Regions from separate parts of the Homo sapiens genome. Here regions 1, 2, 3, 4 and 5 are each linked to region 6. Evidence: promoter capture Hi-C in 16 types of primary human blood cells and fetal thymus (Javierre and others, 2016). All regions are on one chromosome and are shown on one strand. The core of a region is centred on a gene start or on the middle of the fragment in contact, and the rest is flanking DNA. Distances in the headings are between cores, read along the strand shown. Region 1 has its middle 42 kb from the start of LINC02105. Region 2 has its middle 1.9 kb from the start of LINC02105. Region 3 has its middle 62 kb from the start of LINC02105. Region 4 overlaps ARL15 (ARF like GTPase 15). Region 5 overlaps ARL15 (ARF like GTPase 15). Region 6 holds the start of FST (follistatin).

Region 1 (2,700 bases), core at 158-2,657, 380 kb before region 6:
CCTATTGAGCTGCTTCGATATGTATCTAGTCTGGTATTTGTCACATAGCTAGTAAGTGACAGAAACAGAAACACCTACACTCTTTTGAACTCCAAAGCCTGGGTGCTTTCCACTGCTCCACAGTTTCGTTGCTGGAGATAGAAATATGACATTTTGGGCCATTTATGGACAATTGAAATATGTACAACGGTGTGACAGCAAGGCCCCTCCAAGGGGATAAGCTGCAATAGCTTCCCACACCATAAGTGACAGCCACTGGCATGCTAGGATCAGGTCATACTCCTGAGATGCCAGTTCCTTCAGTCCTCAGAGTATAGGGGTGCAGTCTGGGGCCAGCTCCCATAGGTGGAGAGCAGCCTCATTACTCCTATATGCCATGCAATTATCATCATTTTCTGTATGTGATGGAAAATGACATTAAAAAATTAGGGACACTAGGCCGGGCGCAGTGGCTCACACCTGTAATCCCAGCACTTTGGGAGGCTGAGGCAGGCAGATCACCTGAGGTCAAGAGTTCGAGACCAGCCTGGCCAACATGGTGAAACCTCGTCTCTATTAAAAATACAAAAATCAGCTGGCCGTGGTGGCACACGTCTGCAGTCCCAGCTACTTGGGAGGCTGAGGCAGGAGGATCCCTTGAACTTAGGAGGTGGAGTTTGCAGTGAGCCGAGATTGCACCACTGTACTCCAGGCTGGGCAACAGAGAGAGACTCAGTCTGAAAAAAAAAATATTTTGGGACACCCTCGGTGAGAATTAGTAGCTCTAGGTCAATCTAGCCACTTTGTGGATACATGATTTTTAGAAACCTTTTCAGCCAAATTTTCACTGGATCCTGGCTTTACTGTTTTGTTATACACATTTTCCATTTGTCCTGAATCCTTCACTTACTACATTTTATTGGAGTTTCTGTAAATCACCTTAAATTTCTTGTAGAAAGTCAGAAGCAATTGAGGCAAGTTTTGACTGTAATTACAAGTGAGTTTATTGAGTTTATTAAGCTGGGAGCATTGACATATGAATGAAGAAACAGAATGTAGTATATATACATGGTGGAATATCATTTAGCCTTTAAAAAGGACCATGCTACAAGATGGATGAAGCTTGGTAACATTACGCTAAGTGAAATAAGCCACAAAAAGACACATGCTATATAATTCCACTTATATGAGCTATCCAGAATAGTCAAACTCATAGAAATAGAAAGTAGAATGGTGGTTGCCAGGGGATGGGAAGGGTGGTAAAATGGGCAGTTTTTGTTTAATGGGTAGAGAGTTTCAGTTTTGCAAGATGAAAATGTTTTAGAGATTGGGTGCACAACAATGTGAATATACTTAACATTACTGAAATGTACACTTAAAGATTGTTAAGAGGGTAAATTTTATATTATGTGTATTTACCTCAATTTTAAAAAAAGAACATATAGTAAAATTGTGCTATTTACTCTAAACAGAGGCTTCAGTTAAGCTGTTGCAAGATGTGCTATTGCTGTGGTGTTGGAAGCATAAAACATACTACCTGACTGCTACATTGTTTCTTACGGTGAATCACAAAGTCCTGTTGATTCTCCCAGCAAAACATCTTCTGACTAGGGCTGACTACATCATTCATGGAGTCCAGAGCAAAATGAAAATTCAGTCCTTTATTCAAAAACCAGTACTCCTGAAAGTACCAAAATATAAAGTTTTTTCCTTTATTCTATGTAAAAAGCTTGTTTTCAACTTGCCACGGTGTTTTTTATTTGCAATTTACTATCTTTCTAAGTAAAGAAAAATTTAAACTTGAAATTTTACCATTCATTTTTATAATGTACAAGGCCATTTTTAAATGCAAATATAAAAGCTACCTTTTATATAAAATTGCCAAAATAACATAGTTTATATTTTGTAGCTCACAAATGCACTTGAGTTTCAGGTTCTTACCAGAATGGTGAAAACACTGTATAAAAGGAACTCACAGGTTTTTTTTTTTAAATCTTTTAATTGTCATTTTATAGCTCCCCACCACAGCTGCCCCCCACCCTTCCCTTTGATGACAACGTTTGCAGGCTTCAGGGGGACCAGAGAACAAAGCTGGGGCCTGGCAGCCCCACTACGCTGCCAGCCGAGGAGAACAAGTCACAATTACAAATTATCACAACAATTAGCTCCTGTACTTGGGGGATCAGCAAATTAAGGAGGCCCCAGCTCCTCATTGTACAGGGGGCTATTTGGCAGTGACCTTGCTCTGGAGACGATGATATTCCTTCAGCCTGAGGGAATTGATGTTGATGAACCCGGTGGCATCAATTGACTGATAATCACCCTGCACGTTCATGCTCACCGGCTCCTCCTTGTAGAGAGACAGTGGGGACTCCTGGCCAAGGATGTACACCTGGCCCTCGAGGACGGACACCTGCACTTTCCCTTCCACTTGCTCCTGGGACTTGGCGATGCAGTGGCAGACAAATTCACACTCAGGGCTGTACCAGAAACCGGTATCCACCAGCTCAACAAATTTCAAGCCCAGGCCTTGTTTGATTTTGCGCACTTCCTGGCCCATGGTGAAGGCCTTGGTGTCTAAATGAGCGAGGTAAAGGATGGTGCTTGCTGGGGCCTGGTAGATCCCTCGGGACTTCATTCCAATGAAGCGGTTCTCCATGATGTCAATACAGCCCACACCCTGCTTGCCCACGACTTCGTTCAGGTACATGAAGAGCTCCA
Region 2 (2,700 bases), core at 128-2,627, 340 kb before region 6:
ACCTCAGTTCCCCACCAGGTATTACAGTCTTTGCCACTATTCTGCTGGGCACCAACCACAACAACAAGCCAAGTTTGATCCTTCACTAAGGGTGGCCATATATTTCTAGCTTATGCCCGTTGTCCTCATATAATTGTTAATTGTTAATAGCACCCTCTTTTATTCTCAGAGAAGCATAAGTTTTACAATAGTCAGAGGCAAGGAGGTTTTTGTGAATCCTCTGTTAGAGAAGCTCCCAAATGGCACAGTTTGTGTTCTCAACATTTTATACAGGGGCAGAGAAACCCAATTTTAAATTTAGAAACCTAAATTAACCAAAGGGAAGGCTATTGATTGATTGATATAACCAAAGTAGGGAAAAGGCAGTGGGTAGAGCGTTTCAGCAACCACTGGATTCAGAATCTCAAGTGTTAGAGAACTCACTTCTTCTCTCTTCGTTTCCTTTTTTTGTTGTTGTTGTTGTTTTGTCTCTGTTTCTCTGTGTTAAACTTATTCCCTTAGACTTGCCCCTATGAAGCTGGAAGCTTCAACACTAACACCAGTCCTAGGCCTACATCCTCAAAGCTTCAGAACCACAAAACTCAGAGGGCTCTTAAAGGGAATATCTTAGGAAAGAGCCTATTGACTATGGTTCGGTCGTATGCCCATCACTGGACCATTCACTGTGGCCAAAGCATTAGGAACTATGGTTGGCAGCCCCATCAGAATCCTACTAAAAAGAGGACAGTGCTGTTCCAGGCAAACAAAGCAACAAATGCCCACCACATAGAGCTCTTTCAGTGTTTAACCATCAGCCAATTTTCTCCAGAAGTGAGACCTGAGTCCAGTTGGGGAATGTCATAAAATAAAAGCAGTATGTGGTCCAACATTCCTCCTTCCCATTCTACAACTAGGATTTTTCTGACTGAGGCAAACTCTTCCTGATCCTTGATCCCTTCACTCATCCTATAGGGTCCACAGTTCTTACGCACGTTGGCTTGGTTAGGCTGCCCTAGCTGTTCACTGGACCCCCAGTGGTGGGCATAGCTTAGGCACAAGCTTAAAGATATCATTATATATATTAGCAAAACCAAACAGGATTAGGGAAACATGTACATTACATCCCGGACAAATCCTGAGTAGGTTCTTGAAATTAAACCATATGACTTCTTAGACCTACAGTTTGCATTCTGAAGACAAGCCAGTGGGATTCATACTCAGGGTAAGAAACCCTCCCCCGTGTGTGTGTGTGTGTGTGTGTGTGTGTGTGTGTGTGTGTGTGTGTGTATGTAAACCAGGATGCAAATGGTACATTTATTGGCTTCAGGCCCAAATGTTATTCACAGAAAAGAAAAGCTGATTCCTGCTCTGATATAAACTTGAACATTATTTTTCTGTTCATGGAAAATTCTATTTTTCTTTAGCATTGTTACTTAACCAAAAGACTTTTAGAAAATTGCAGCAGTGCTTTGAAGCACTCCGTGAAGTTGAGCTATTTCAGGCCTGTTCCAGAATAGGTTGTATGCCCATGTGGGTTTCCATATCTGCAGTGGATCTTCCATATCTGCAGTGGTGTTTTGGTTGACATTTAGGATCTTTTCAAGCTCATGGTTTTCATGAGTACACAGATGAAGCCAATTCACTTTGTGAAATCCACCTAGTTTAAAATTCCTTTCATCTCCTCTCAAACATATTTGAGAAAGTCATTACAAATCAAGAGACCAATGTGAAGCTTAAAATGCATTTTCTTAAATGTCCTTCAAAAAGAGATTATGTTTTGGACATAATGTTTTGGACTAAACCAGGAGGTGAACTGCTGAGCATCCAGAAGTTTCTAGAGGGTACAGCATTGTAGGTTTGTTATGTTTGGAAAACAGTGGCCTGGACTATTTGTATGCAGGCGGGGATATCCCCTTACTGGGGAGTGAGCACTCATCCTCAAAGCCATTTGCATGTTCTGCACCTTTCTGAACCCTTCCCAGTGCCAAGTCCAAAATGAGTCATGAGACTGACTGCATGCACCATATGGTAAACCTGAGAACCATCCCTCTACTGAAGGACGCACACCAGGGCATGATTTGTTTAAGGCTACACAACTTCTGCCGAAAGATGACTTTGCCACAGCTTTTAAACATATGATGCAAGTTTTGTGCTGTGAAAAGTCCCCACTTACAGTTTAAGTATTTTTGTTCAGAGGAATAAAAGAAAACAAATACGTAAGTCCTAATACAGGGCCTGTTTATAGCAATGGATCAGGCAGATCTCACTTCCCTTACTACATCCCTGACTGCTTCTAGCTGCATTAATTAGCTTAAAGGGGCTTCAGGGCTACTTGGTAATGAAAACAGCCATACCTTATGCAATTAATTATATAGAACAGTTACTTAGCTTCCATTTTTCTGCACCCCTCATGGTACTGACTTTCCACTTTCTGTTTTCATTTTTAGAAAATAAGTTGCTATGAAACTTACATCTATTGACTTTGAGGATGCTTCTAGAAAATCATTTGAATATTTTTAAAACCAAAGATTTCTATATTTCTGCTAACTTTTTAAAGAGGAGCCCAAGTCTGAGAGACACAGAAACCCAACTCTAATTATATCTGTGGTGCCTGGGAGACATCCCCAGCTTAGATGAGTAAATGTGAAAAGAGAAAACAATCATAGGCAATTAGCTGGGTCTTGGCTTAATGTCAGCAATGTATCCACTGTGAACCTCAAG
Region 3 (2,700 bases), core at 26-2,525, 400 kb before region 6:
ATCTAACCTTCATTCCTAGGTTTATTTCTAGTGTAGGCAATTAGCAGTTATCAACTTCCTAAGCATCTCAGTCCTATCCAAGTAAATGTGAACAGAACTGTAAGATTTTGAAGCAAATGGGGTTTTCTTCATGTCCATATTGCATATTCAGACTTGAATGGAAATCTAATATTCGTGCCTGGCTTCATCCTCTTTATAACTTTAGAGTGCATTTTCATTAACCTCCTGACCTAATGGCGCAAACAGAAATGAAAAGGTATGTAGGGTGGTGGGGCTGGAAGTGGGAGTTGCCCTTTGGGATCCCTCATTTTCAATGCATTTGGAAGGGAGGGTCTGTGTTTGTTATGCAGAAACTTTAGAATGTAGAGTCCCTGTCTTGTTCCCCAGCCTGGGTCCTGGAGATCTGAAGTTCATGCTGTAAAATGCATTACCACATCATGTTGGGAATTCCTGGCTCCCAAGGGCTCACAGCATTTGGTCACCAGTGAATCAGCATGTTTAAATTATGTGCATCTCAGGGTTAAATGTTTTTCAACTCAGATGCATGAAGTGACTGATGAGCCCAAGGTTTGGCACCCTACCCCACACCCCCTTGTACTAATTTAGGAACATGAAAAGGATCCCTTAGAAGCCTCAGATGGGATGTCAGTTTCTCCTCCCCTTTCCTATTCTCTTTGAATTAAAGCTTTAAATGACAAACTTTTCTTCCACCCACTGTCTCATCAGATCTGGAAATTCTGACTTCCCTTCCTGGGGTTTCATCTGTTTGTAACAACTTCTCCATAATGTGACTTACTGTGAAACCAAGCAAAGAAGTTAAAAGTCACAAAGAAGAATCTCTCCAATACGCCCTGTCTAGCATCTTCCTTTCCTTATGAAACAAAGAGAAATTCAAAGCCCATGATTTCTCTATCAGATTTTTCTCTATAATCTCATCTCACATGCCATCTCTGCTCTGCAAAGCATATTGTATTCACTGGCTCCTGGTTTAGAAAGGCCAACTACAGGGTTCTTAGGCTTAGCCTGCCCCTTCCCTTTCTTGCTGTACTTCTCAAGTCCTGACTGCACACAGGAATTTCCACAGGGCATTCTAGATGAATAATCACTTTCTACAAGGGAATAGTGTGGGCCTGGTGGCTTTCAAAGAAACTTCACTTACCATATATGCCTTGTAAGTCACTTGTACCCTGTTGGGAGAATAAAGAAAGTGGTTTCTAGATGTAATGCCTTGCTAGGCTCAGCCAGGTTTATAATCCAGTCCAACTCCTTATCCCCACTGCTCCAGCTAGACATAGACCAACGTGGGTACAGCCATTCCACCACACTTTTAAAAAACGATCTTCTGCTAACTACTAGATAATGGTGAATTCCCTTTTTCCTTCCTTCTTTTTCAAAAATCTCTTCCTTTTATCTGATGATCTCAAAGAATCCTACATAAATGTTTCAGCCTAGTTTTCTTCTAGCAGCAACATTTCAACCATGGAGGTGAGTTGGCAATGTAGTCCCCAGAGATGCTAACCTGGCTCAGGCCCAAGGGAACAAATCAAAATGAGGCTTGAATAAGCACCAGGTTCCCCAGACTCTCTCATTTTCCTGTTTCTTCATGGAATATAGGGAGGCGGAGGGAGCTGGTTATTTCAAAAAGCCTAAGATCACTTCCATCACAGGCAAACCCCTCCTGAAAGTGTGAAATCCAGCCTACAATGGACTTTCACCGACAAGTGATTCATTGAGACAAAGGCTAGAGTTCCAGCATCAAACAGATGTCAGACAAAGCACCAAACGCCTATAAATGATTGCTTTGCAAGCAAGGGAATGACTGGAAGACCTGGCCTAATGATGTACCCCATGTCTGGACAAGCTTACAGAAGATGGTGGTGGAGGGAGCTGGTTTTTTTTTTTTTTTGAGACGGAGTCTCGCTCTGTCGCCCAGGCTGGAGTGCAGTGGCGGGATCTCGGCTCACTGCAAGCTCCGCCTCCCGGGTTCACGCCATTCTCCTGCCTCAGCCTCCCAAGTAGCTGGGACTACAGGCGCCCGCCACTACGCCCGGCTAATTTTTTGTATTTTTAGTAGAGACGGGGTTTCACCGTTTTAGCCGGGATGGTCTCGATCTCCTGACCTCGTGATCCGCCCGCCTCGGCCTCCCAAAGTGCTGGGATTACAGGCGTGAGCCACCGCGCCCGGCCGGGAGCTGGTTTTAAACAGAGTCTGTGAAGAAAGCTGTTTCTGGAGAGAGAAGTAAGACCACAATTCTTACCTGAGAGGTTCATGTTGAAATGAATGATTTCTGGCCAGTTTGCGTATAATCTGTGTAAAGGTAAATCAGAAAAATGTGTGTCCAGGGCACCTTGAAGGCCAGAGTGATGTGGTATGATATTAAATCATTAGACATATAAATATTAAAAATGAGAAGATTTTGTTAGAATGGAAACGGCTCACCAAAAGGCAGAGACAAGAATGCAAACAGTAAGTCTAGCTGTCATTCTCTGTAATCTGGAGCAAGTCAGGTTTGTCTCTGGACCTTCTCCAGTTGTTTTACAACTTTCTAGACATGCAGTGTATCAACCCAACACTTTTATTAAGCAGCTTTGACAGGGTTTTTGAGATGACAGCTAGTCGAGATTCAACTTAGCATTGTACAGTTTTATTTCACAATTGGAACTTTCGGTTTTAATACTTTTAGGACTTTATTCATTAAT
Region 4 (2,700 bases), core at 85-2,584, 460 kb before region 6:
TTTAAATCTCTAGCCAAAGCTCTCAACCGATTTCTAGATTATTCCTGTGCTTCCACAGCTTCTAGTGCCACTGGTATGTCTGATGCCATCTTACATTTAAGGTCAAAAGATTCCTGAAGCCCCCACACAACTCAAACCCAACTTCTCCCCCATTGTTTTCCATCTCAGTCAAAGTAGCATCCTTCCCTCTCTTCCCCACCCACCCCACAATTTACCTAGTTCCCTGGCCCCAGTTTCTCTCAGTGCCCACATGAGCAAGACCAGTTGCCTTTATCTTCAAAATATATCCTGAACCTACAGTATTACCACCCTAGTCCAAGCAACCTGCAACCATTCCTCTCTGGATTCTTGTAATTGCTTCCTACCTGGCATCTCTGCTTCCATTCTTGCCCCTGCCCGCCCCATACTCTTTACATGGATTTTTTAAATAGATAAATCAGACTGTGCCACTTCCCTTCCCAGAGCCCTGCGGTGGTTTCTCATCATGAAAATAAATAGCTCTCCTGACCCAGGCCTTGCTTAGCTTTCTGACTTCCTTTTCTACTGCTGGAGACAGTTAGAGGTGAGCACCCTGTAGAGAGGTGGGCCCTCTATTAGGTGGAGGGGAGGGGAGGAAAGGGAGGAAGGGAGGGAAGAAAGCGAGAAAACACCAACAACTCAAAGAAGAATCACCACATAAACAACTGTGCCCACCAGGAACATGCATCTTGCCTGCTATTATCTAATAGTTGAGATGTGAAGTGGACTGGCAAATTTGTGGGTTCTGGTTATGGAGAACTGACCTAGGTTGATATTCATTCTGCCAGAGCCACTGGAATTTGTAGTTTCTGAAAAGACTTGTGTTATTTGGCAAAACCAGAATTGGGCATCATTTATCTTCATGTACTTAGCCAAAGCCCTAGAAAAACTTTTTTGATTCTTAAGAAAATGATCTAAACCCAATAATCCTTGCTTCGTTTATTTTTAACGACAGGCCCATTCTGTAGAGTTTTTCTGTATGAACTTACCCGACCTCCTGTAAAAAGAAAGATCTACCTTGGATATAGAAATTTATTTATTATCTGTTTCATTCTGTTCTTTTCTGAGAACAGCAAGTTTTCCACGTAGTTCTGTATACATAATCCTTTTTTTAAAGGATTGCAGGCACATTTTATTGTGAATTTGGCCATGGTTTAATGATGTATAATGTTGGATTTCTTCATATCTTAAATATTAAAAAAGCTTATACAGAAGTAAAGGGAAAGGGGAAGAAGGAGAAAAGTAGAAGAAGAGAATGACTAATGCTTTGGTTTAACAAATAACATTGTGAAATAAACCATTGATATTTTGTAAGGTAAAAATCTTTCAAATCTACTCATTATTATAATAATAAGTAATAAAATACTCATCTCACAGGCAGTTCAAAGGAACCCCATTGACTAAACTTGGTAATTAATTGGTAAGCTTTAATGGACAATATAATAAATATTTTTCTTGTAAAAGCTTGACCTAGTACAATTTTTGGTGAAACAGTTTGCTTTTACAGAATAATAAAACTACAAAGACATTTTGAGAATTAAGTCAGCTGCATGATGTGATCATTAAGCTATTTGCTATAAAATGTACATTCAAATTATTAGAAGTTCAAAAGAATTGATGACACATTAGAAATGTATTTTCTGTTTTTCATATGAAACATAAAAGCTCTAGAAGTTATGGGCATAAGTGAAGTATGCATGTTTCCTTCTCTCCCTTCTTAAAAAATCCATAATTGTTCTCTGTTTAAGCATAGAAAAATGCCATGTGACTTTTATTTCTCCAGAAAATTAGGAATAACCTGTGGGCATTTAAGGTTATACTAGAACATGCATAATGAGTGAATTCCTATTAATTCCATGTTATATTGAGGAAAAATGCTTCAAATATACGTAACTTCCACCAGAGTAGTTAGCTTTTTCTTAGCTATATTTGGAACTTTGATTACTACTCTTAATCTCTTTCAAAGTTTAATTTTATTAAATTGCTCAAAGGTAGAGACAAAAGGTTATGGTGTTTTTCTTTTTTCTTTCAGCAAATGAAGAAAATACAAATTTGCTACATGCCTATGGGAATTAAGCAGTATCATAGCACTGGTTGGTCTAGTTTTAAAACTTCAGGACTGCCGGGCGCGGTGGTTCACGCCTGTAATCCCAGCACTTTGGGAGGCCAAGGTGGGCGGATGACGGGGTCAGGAGATCAAGACCATCCTGGCTAACACGGTGAAACCCCGTCTCTACTAAAAATACCAGAAAAATTAGCCGTGGCAGGCACCTGTAGTCCCAGCTACTCGGGAGGCTGAGGCAGGAGAATGGCGTGAACCAGGGAGGCGGAGCTTGCAGTGAGCCGAGATCGCGCCTCTGCACTCCAGCCTGGGCGACAGAGCGAGGCTCCGTCTCAAAAAAAAAAAAAAAAAAGTTCAGGACTTTATTTTCAAGCAAAAATCAAAGTTGTTTGTTGTTGTTGTTGTTGTTGTTGTTGTTTTTTCTGGATAACACCTAAGTTACAAACGTCTGTTCATATTTGTTTGAATCAGTGTTTAATTTTATTCTTTTATGATTATTAATCTACAGATTTCAAATGTAAGGAACATTGGAATAGTGAGTGATGTAGCAGCTAACTTTCTTTTTCTTTCTTTCTTTATTTTATTTTATTTTTTTTTGAGACGGAGTCTCGCTTTATCTC
Region 5 (2,700 bases), core at 179-2,678, 440 kb before region 6:
GCGCCCGCCACCACGCCTGGCTAATATAATCAGGTTTTTAAAAATGTATTGTTTAAAAAATAAAACTTGATAAGTTTTTTAAATATTATGAGATTTTTATTTTGACATGCTCAAGAATATACCAGAACCGAAAGAATTTCATTTAGGTTGAAAAGAATCAGTTTAGGTTACTAGTAAAGGAGATGCCTTTAGGTAAATCATGCTTATTTGAGAAAGCTTTGTGCATTTGACAACCTATTATATTTGTGCATCTGACAACATCCAGCAATTATACAGGATGTATAATTCATCTCTAGAACTCAAAGATCATTTTACCAAGTAGCCCTTCACCGACAAGGAGGCAGTGGGGTGGGGACAGGGAACAGCCTGCCCTTCTGAAGCAACTGCGTCATATTTTATGCAGATGTAAAGTTTTATGATCTTAGCAAAAATCAGACCACAAATACAAACTTGTGTTTCAAGTTGGAGAGGCAAAAGGACTTTGTTTCTGGTGTGGGAGGTGATTGTTTGTTTGTTTTGAGTTTCAGGAGTTCCATCCTGACTCACCCTTACCAATGGCAGCCATTGAAGACCAGAGCCCGAATCGTGAAGAGGCAGTCATTCTCCAAAACTTGCTTGCCCTGAGTTTGAAGTTCCCTGTCACTTGAGAAGACTTCTTTAGGGTGTAGATTATAGACTTGCCTCAGAAAGGCCACTTTTTAAAAATTAATCATCAAAATAAATGAAAGCGTGTATAGGTCACTTCTGTTTTCTGTATAAGTTTCTCAGAACATGCTCTGTATACACTGGTTATTCAATAAATGTCAGTCAGTCAGCAGCATTTATGGAGTGCTGCTCTACTTGAAATGCTCATAAAGGAAAGTGAAAGTCCCCAGGGGAATAGACAGTTTTCAGATTGTTTTTCTCTTGTGTTTCTGGTTCAGGATCTACACAGCTCAGTTGTCAGCACAGATGGAAAAGTGGCTGTCCTTTTCCTATGGAGCTGTTGTTCACAAGTCAAGCAATATTCCATCAATACATCACTACAGATGTACCACTTGTTAAAATATTGACGTACTGGCCTATCCATTTGAATGCCACCTGTTTCCTCCCCGCTGGGACCTCTTGGGCTGCTCCACAATTTCACAACCAAAGCAGTAATTCCTGGCTTGGTAGAGAGCCTCTAGAACTGCACTACAGCACTGCCACCAACGTTCATTCTGGTTGGTTAGTGTCCATGACATACTCCATCTTTAATATCTTAAATGTTCCTCTTGTACTAAACATTATCTACACAGAAAGTTAGGGGACATTCAAGAATGATGCCTCAAAGCTGATACAGTCATTGTCATTTAAAAAATAAGAAGACATTCAAAGACTAAATGAACTGGTACAGTGATCCTTTTACGGTGAACTATTGGATTCTTCTCCTGGTCCTAGGGCAGAGACCAGGCCTGAATCTTGTTTGTATCCTCGTTACTAAACACAGGCAAGGGAACAGTGAATGTTAATTGAACTAAACGGAACTGAATGTAGACTTCAGACTTAAAGGAGAGAATGGAAGCTGAGATGGCCATACCAGAAACACAAACTAAGGCATACCAGAAGACAGTCTTTTCATTACCAAGTGGCTGCCAGCTGAGGGTCAGTAATTAACTGACAAAACACATGGTGCTACACTACAAGTTAAGTAAAACAGGAAGTAGTTTGATGAGCAGATATTGATGGATATACCTTGTCACTAAGGTACATATTGCTTTCAAGGTGTACATTAACTTTCAGTGCATAGCTCTGGTATGTCTGCAAAACTGAATTCTAGAACTGAATTAGACATTTTTTGTTTTAAAAGGGAAAGAAATCTGAATAGCTCAGTGTTGAGAATCAATATGATGGCACATAGTGATTGTCAAACTGCTCATTCCTGGTAACCCCAGCCTTGCTTTAGTCAGAGCAGTCTGCTTTTAATGATTTTTTGTTTTGTTTTGTTTTGAGACAGGGTCTCTCTCTGTCACCCAGGCTGGAGTGCAGTGGCACAATCTCGGCTCACTGCAACATCCGCCTCCTGGGTTCAAGTAATCCTCCCACCTCAGCCTCCCAAGTAGCTGGGACTACTGGCGCACTCCACCACACCCAGCTAAGTTTTGTATTTTTAGTAGAGACAGGTTTTGCCATGTTGGCCAGGCTGGTCTTGAACTCCTGACCTCAAGTGATCCACCTGCCTTGTGCTTTTAGTGTTTTATACGCATTATTCTGTCACTCCCTGAGTGAAATCATCTGCAAAAATTAGTTCATGTTAATTTTTACTATTCTCCACATAATTAATGGGAAAATAAAATGTTTCTATTACTGGAACATAAGTTCAAGGTTAAAAGGGGAAATGTCTAACACATAGGTTTTTGTACTTACATACTTACAATAGCTATAGGGGGGACAGTATACCCATAGGTAAGAACATGGGTCCTAAAGTTTCACTGACCAAGGGCAGAATGTCAGTTTCTTCACCTGTTAGCTGCTTGCTCTTGAACAAGTGACTTACCTCTCTGAGCCTCTGTTCCTATATGAGTTAAATGCAGGTGATAATACATTACCTGACAGAGCCGTAATGAGAATTAAGTGATGAAATGTTTCTGTATTAGAGTAATACAGTTGCTATAAAGCTTACATTCTCGATGTCTTGCCACTGTAGGTCACCTCACAGTGCAATATGGTCAGTGGGGGCAC
Region 6 (2,700 bases), core at 199-2,698:
GGCCACCGCGATCTTTCGAAATCTCCGAGGGCTGCTTTCCTCCGCGCCCACGTCCGGGCACCAGGCAGAGCCTCTCCTCTAAAGGCGGGCAACCCAGCGCAGTGCCATGCAGACGGCGAGGGGCAGTGCCCAGGAGGGCAGTTTACAACATACTTAAAATGTTAACGCTGAAGCAGGGAAAGTAATGCCTTAAGGTGGGGGGAGGGGGGAGTCTTCCTACCATTTCACGGTTATAAGTACCTATCTCATACCTAGCAAGAAATATTTGCAAGTGATTTCTCCCTCTTCCCCCTTTTTAATGTTCGGATTTGGGTCGAGAAGACTTCTCATGAATCACCAATATGACTTTAACAATCATTGGATCGCAAGCTGCTATTATTATTTTAAACATTCTGCCCAAAGACTAATTGAAATAAACAAATCTATTTTTAAAAGGCAAGCTTCAGAAATTTGCTCTTAACCCATTTCAGAATTTAAGTCAGTTATGGGCTGCTCACTGTTTTACAGAAAGCTAAGGGTCAGAAAGAAGAATGAGGCAGAGGGGAAAAAAACTGTAAAGTGCTCAAAGCACTTTGGGGTAATAATTTGGCTTTTTTTTTTTTTTTTTTTTTTTTGCGAGAATGGGGGATGGGGTTGGAAGAAGCATCCACTAGGCAGAAAGCTACTTCCCTTGAAAATCTTCAGCACCCACATTTCCAAGTTTGGGCAAAGTTTCTGAAACCACGTCCCCCAGCCACCAAATAAAATTCAGTATCTCTCCCCCAAACCCCCAGGTTTTCTTTTCTTTCTTTCCTTTTTTTTTTTTAAGTATCCAAAAGATGTGGGAGGGAGAGAGATGAGACTGCAAATGGGTCGACTGAAATCTCCAGGCTACTACTGATACTTGTTCCCTTCTTCAGAGCCAAACAGAGGAGATCACATCTAAAGTTATCATGGCCAGAACTTGGAGCATTTAACCCTAACTACTAAGACCCCAGCTCGCTCCCTTTCCTTTTTCAAGATAACCGAGCTCCAAACTCAGTTCCCAGTCCTAAAGTGTCATTGCCTACAATTTTCCCACTCCTCTCCATCCCGGAGTCCCCAAGTTGGTTCAACATCTTCCGAGAGCAGCGTTGCTCAGAACAGACCAAGTGGAGACCACAGAAAAGTCGACCCCCCTGTCCTCAGCCAAGCCTCCCCAGCGCATCCCCACTCGCTTACCCTGGGCACTGCGGTCCTCCATGAACTGGCAGAGCAGCAGCAGCAGGAGGCAAAGCCCACCCGGCTGGTGCCTCGCGCGGACCATCCTGGGGGCAGGCGCGGGGCGAGGAGCGCAGCGGCGCGGGGAGCCGGCGCGGCGGCGGGTGGCTCGGGCGAGCGGCGCGCGTCGCAGAGGCCAGCGGCGGAGGGCGCAGCGATCCCGGCGCAGCCCCGCGCTCGCCGCCGGCCGCCCGCGCGATTCAATGGACGTCAGAAGCCGGGCGCAGCCGCGCTTTAAATCTAGACGGGGGTCTCCGCGGTTTGCGGTGGGCGGTCTCCCAGTGTGTGGGGCTGTGGGAGGGCGGCCGCGAGCGAGGGTGTGCGCGGCTCCTTGGGGGTGGGGAGCTTTCAAAAGTTCAGTGTGAATCAGGTGACATTTCCCACCTTCTGGAAACCCTTCCCAATTATCTTTCGGAGGTGCCCGAAATCAAAACGGCTGGAAGGGAATCGTCGAGTTCTTATTTGCGTAGGAGCGAGAGGGAGGGGGAAGGCGACCGGGGCGGGGGTTGGGGGCTACGCGTCGGGGGTGGGGAGTGGGGAAGAACACCCACTTCAAGTCCTGCTCGCCGCCGCTCGCCGGCAGCGCCGGCGCGCCCGGGGTGGCGGGTGTGTGTGTGAGTGTGTGTGTGAGTGTGTGTGCGCGCGCGCGCGAGTGTGAGAGGGAGGGCGCGGTGGGGGCGCTGGAGGCGGTGGCGGGGGGAACCCGGGAGTTTGTCTCCGTGCTGCCTCTCCTCCGCTCCAAAGAGACTTTTGCAAACGGCCGAAGAGCCCCGGGCTGCCCAAATATCCCGCCCCGGGTCGGGTCGGAGCGCGCCGGCCTCGCGGCGGTTCCGGGCACCCGCAGCCTGGGCGCGGGACCCGCGAGGTTTTGTGTCTGGGTCTGTGAGTGCCTGACTTTGCAGCCACCCCCAGCCCAGAGGTGTTGCTAGGAACCCCGGCCCCGGCACCTTCCACCCTGGCAGAGCGCTACCGAGACGCGGCCCTTCGTCTGGACTAGTCGGAAGCAAACAAAAATGTTTAACACCTCAGGCCCGGTCTCCCCGCGGCACAGCCTCGCCCTCTCCCTTTCTTTTCTCCCCTTTCACTTCGCGGCGTCTGGAGTCGGAGCCCGGAGCGGGGGCGCCGACGTAGGCGGTCTGGCCCCCCCTTCCTCTCCCGCCTGGAGACTCCCCAGTTTCTGTCCTGTGTGCCTCTGTCTGTCTCTCAGTCTCCTCGGCTCCAATCTCTCTCTCTTTCTGTCTCGTCTTCTCTCTTTTCGCGGAATAAAAAAGATTGCAACATCCATAATGAACTTCTGTAGCCTCAGTTTATTAAGTACAGTGCCTGGCATTCTTCGCTGAAAGTTGGCGGGTCTCTCATTTATAACATTTTTGGCACCGCTGAATGAAACTGAGGAGGCGATATTTCCTTTTATATAAAACGATTACTTCACGGAAAATGCTATATTGTTTATTCCAAAGC

Evidence for each region. The method cuts DNA at HindIII sites, captures the fragments that hold promoters and counts their contacts. A CHiCAGO score of 5 or more calls a contact.
Region 1: a fragment that was not itself captured here is called in contact with the fragment with the promoter of FST in region 6 in 2 of 17 cell types (megakaryocytes and endothelial precursors); the score reaches 9.4 in megakaryocytes.
Region 2: a contact is called between a fragment that was not itself captured here and the fragment with the promoter of FST in region 6, in 2 of 17 cell types (megakaryocytes and erythroblasts). The highest score is 6.7, in megakaryocytes.
Region 3: a fragment that was not itself captured here is called in contact with the fragment with the promoter of FST in region 6 in 6 of 17 cell types (megakaryocytes, M2 macrophages, M0 macrophages and 3 more); the score reaches 10.8 in megakaryocytes.
Region 4: a contact is called between a fragment that was not itself captured here and the fragment with the promoter of FST in region 6, in 3 of 17 cell types (M2 macrophages, megakaryocytes and M1 macrophages). The highest score is 7.6, in M2 macrophages.
Region 5: a contact is called between a fragment that was not itself captured here and the fragment with the promoter of FST in region 6, in 1 of 17 cell types (endothelial precursors). The highest score is 5.2, in endothelial precursors.

What each region holds. Positions count from the first base shown.
Region 1 is chr5:53,859,905-53,862,604 of GRCh38, reverse strand. It overlaps the pseudogene ASS1P9. Among named protein-coding and RNA genes, the nearest start is that of LINC02105, 42 kb to the right of the region's middle. RefSeq lists a silencer at 611-819. The HindIII fragment of the contact is 607 bases long and covers 1,104-1,710 here.
Region 2 is chr5:53,820,258-53,822,957 of GRCh38, reverse strand. No RefSeq gene overlaps it. Among named protein-coding and RNA genes, the nearest start is that of LINC02105, 1.9 kb to the right of the region's middle. The HindIII fragment of the contact is 673 bases long and covers 1,041-1,713 here.
Region 3 is chr5:53,880,599-53,883,298 of GRCh38, reverse strand. No RefSeq gene overlaps it. Among named protein-coding and RNA genes, the nearest start is that of LINC02105, 62 kb to the right of the region's middle. RefSeq lists an enhancer at 1-1,097. The HindIII fragment of the contact is 1,176 bases long and covers 688-1,863 here.
Region 4 is chr5:53,939,711-53,942,410 of GRCh38, reverse strand. The region is part of intron 4 of ARL15 (ARF like GTPase 15); the gene reads left to right. Among named protein-coding and RNA genes, the nearest start is that of MIR581, 11 kb to the left of the region's middle. The HindIII fragment of the contact is 222 bases long and covers 1,224-1,445 here.
Region 5 is chr5:53,921,040-53,923,739 of GRCh38, reverse strand. The region is part of intron 4 of ARL15 (ARF like GTPase 15); the gene reads left to right. Among named protein-coding and RNA genes, the nearest start is that of MIR581, 29 kb to the left of the region's middle. The HindIII fragment of the contact is 2,420 bases long and covers 219-2,638 here.
Region 6 is chr5:53,479,377-53,482,076 of GRCh38, reverse strand. It overlaps FST (follistatin), which reads right to left and starts at 1,448. Exons shown (of 6, transcript NM_013409.3): 1 at 1,201-1,448. The coding sequence starts at 1,285. RefSeq lists an enhancer at 146-215. The HindIII fragment of the contact is 5,217 bases long and covers 443-2,700 here.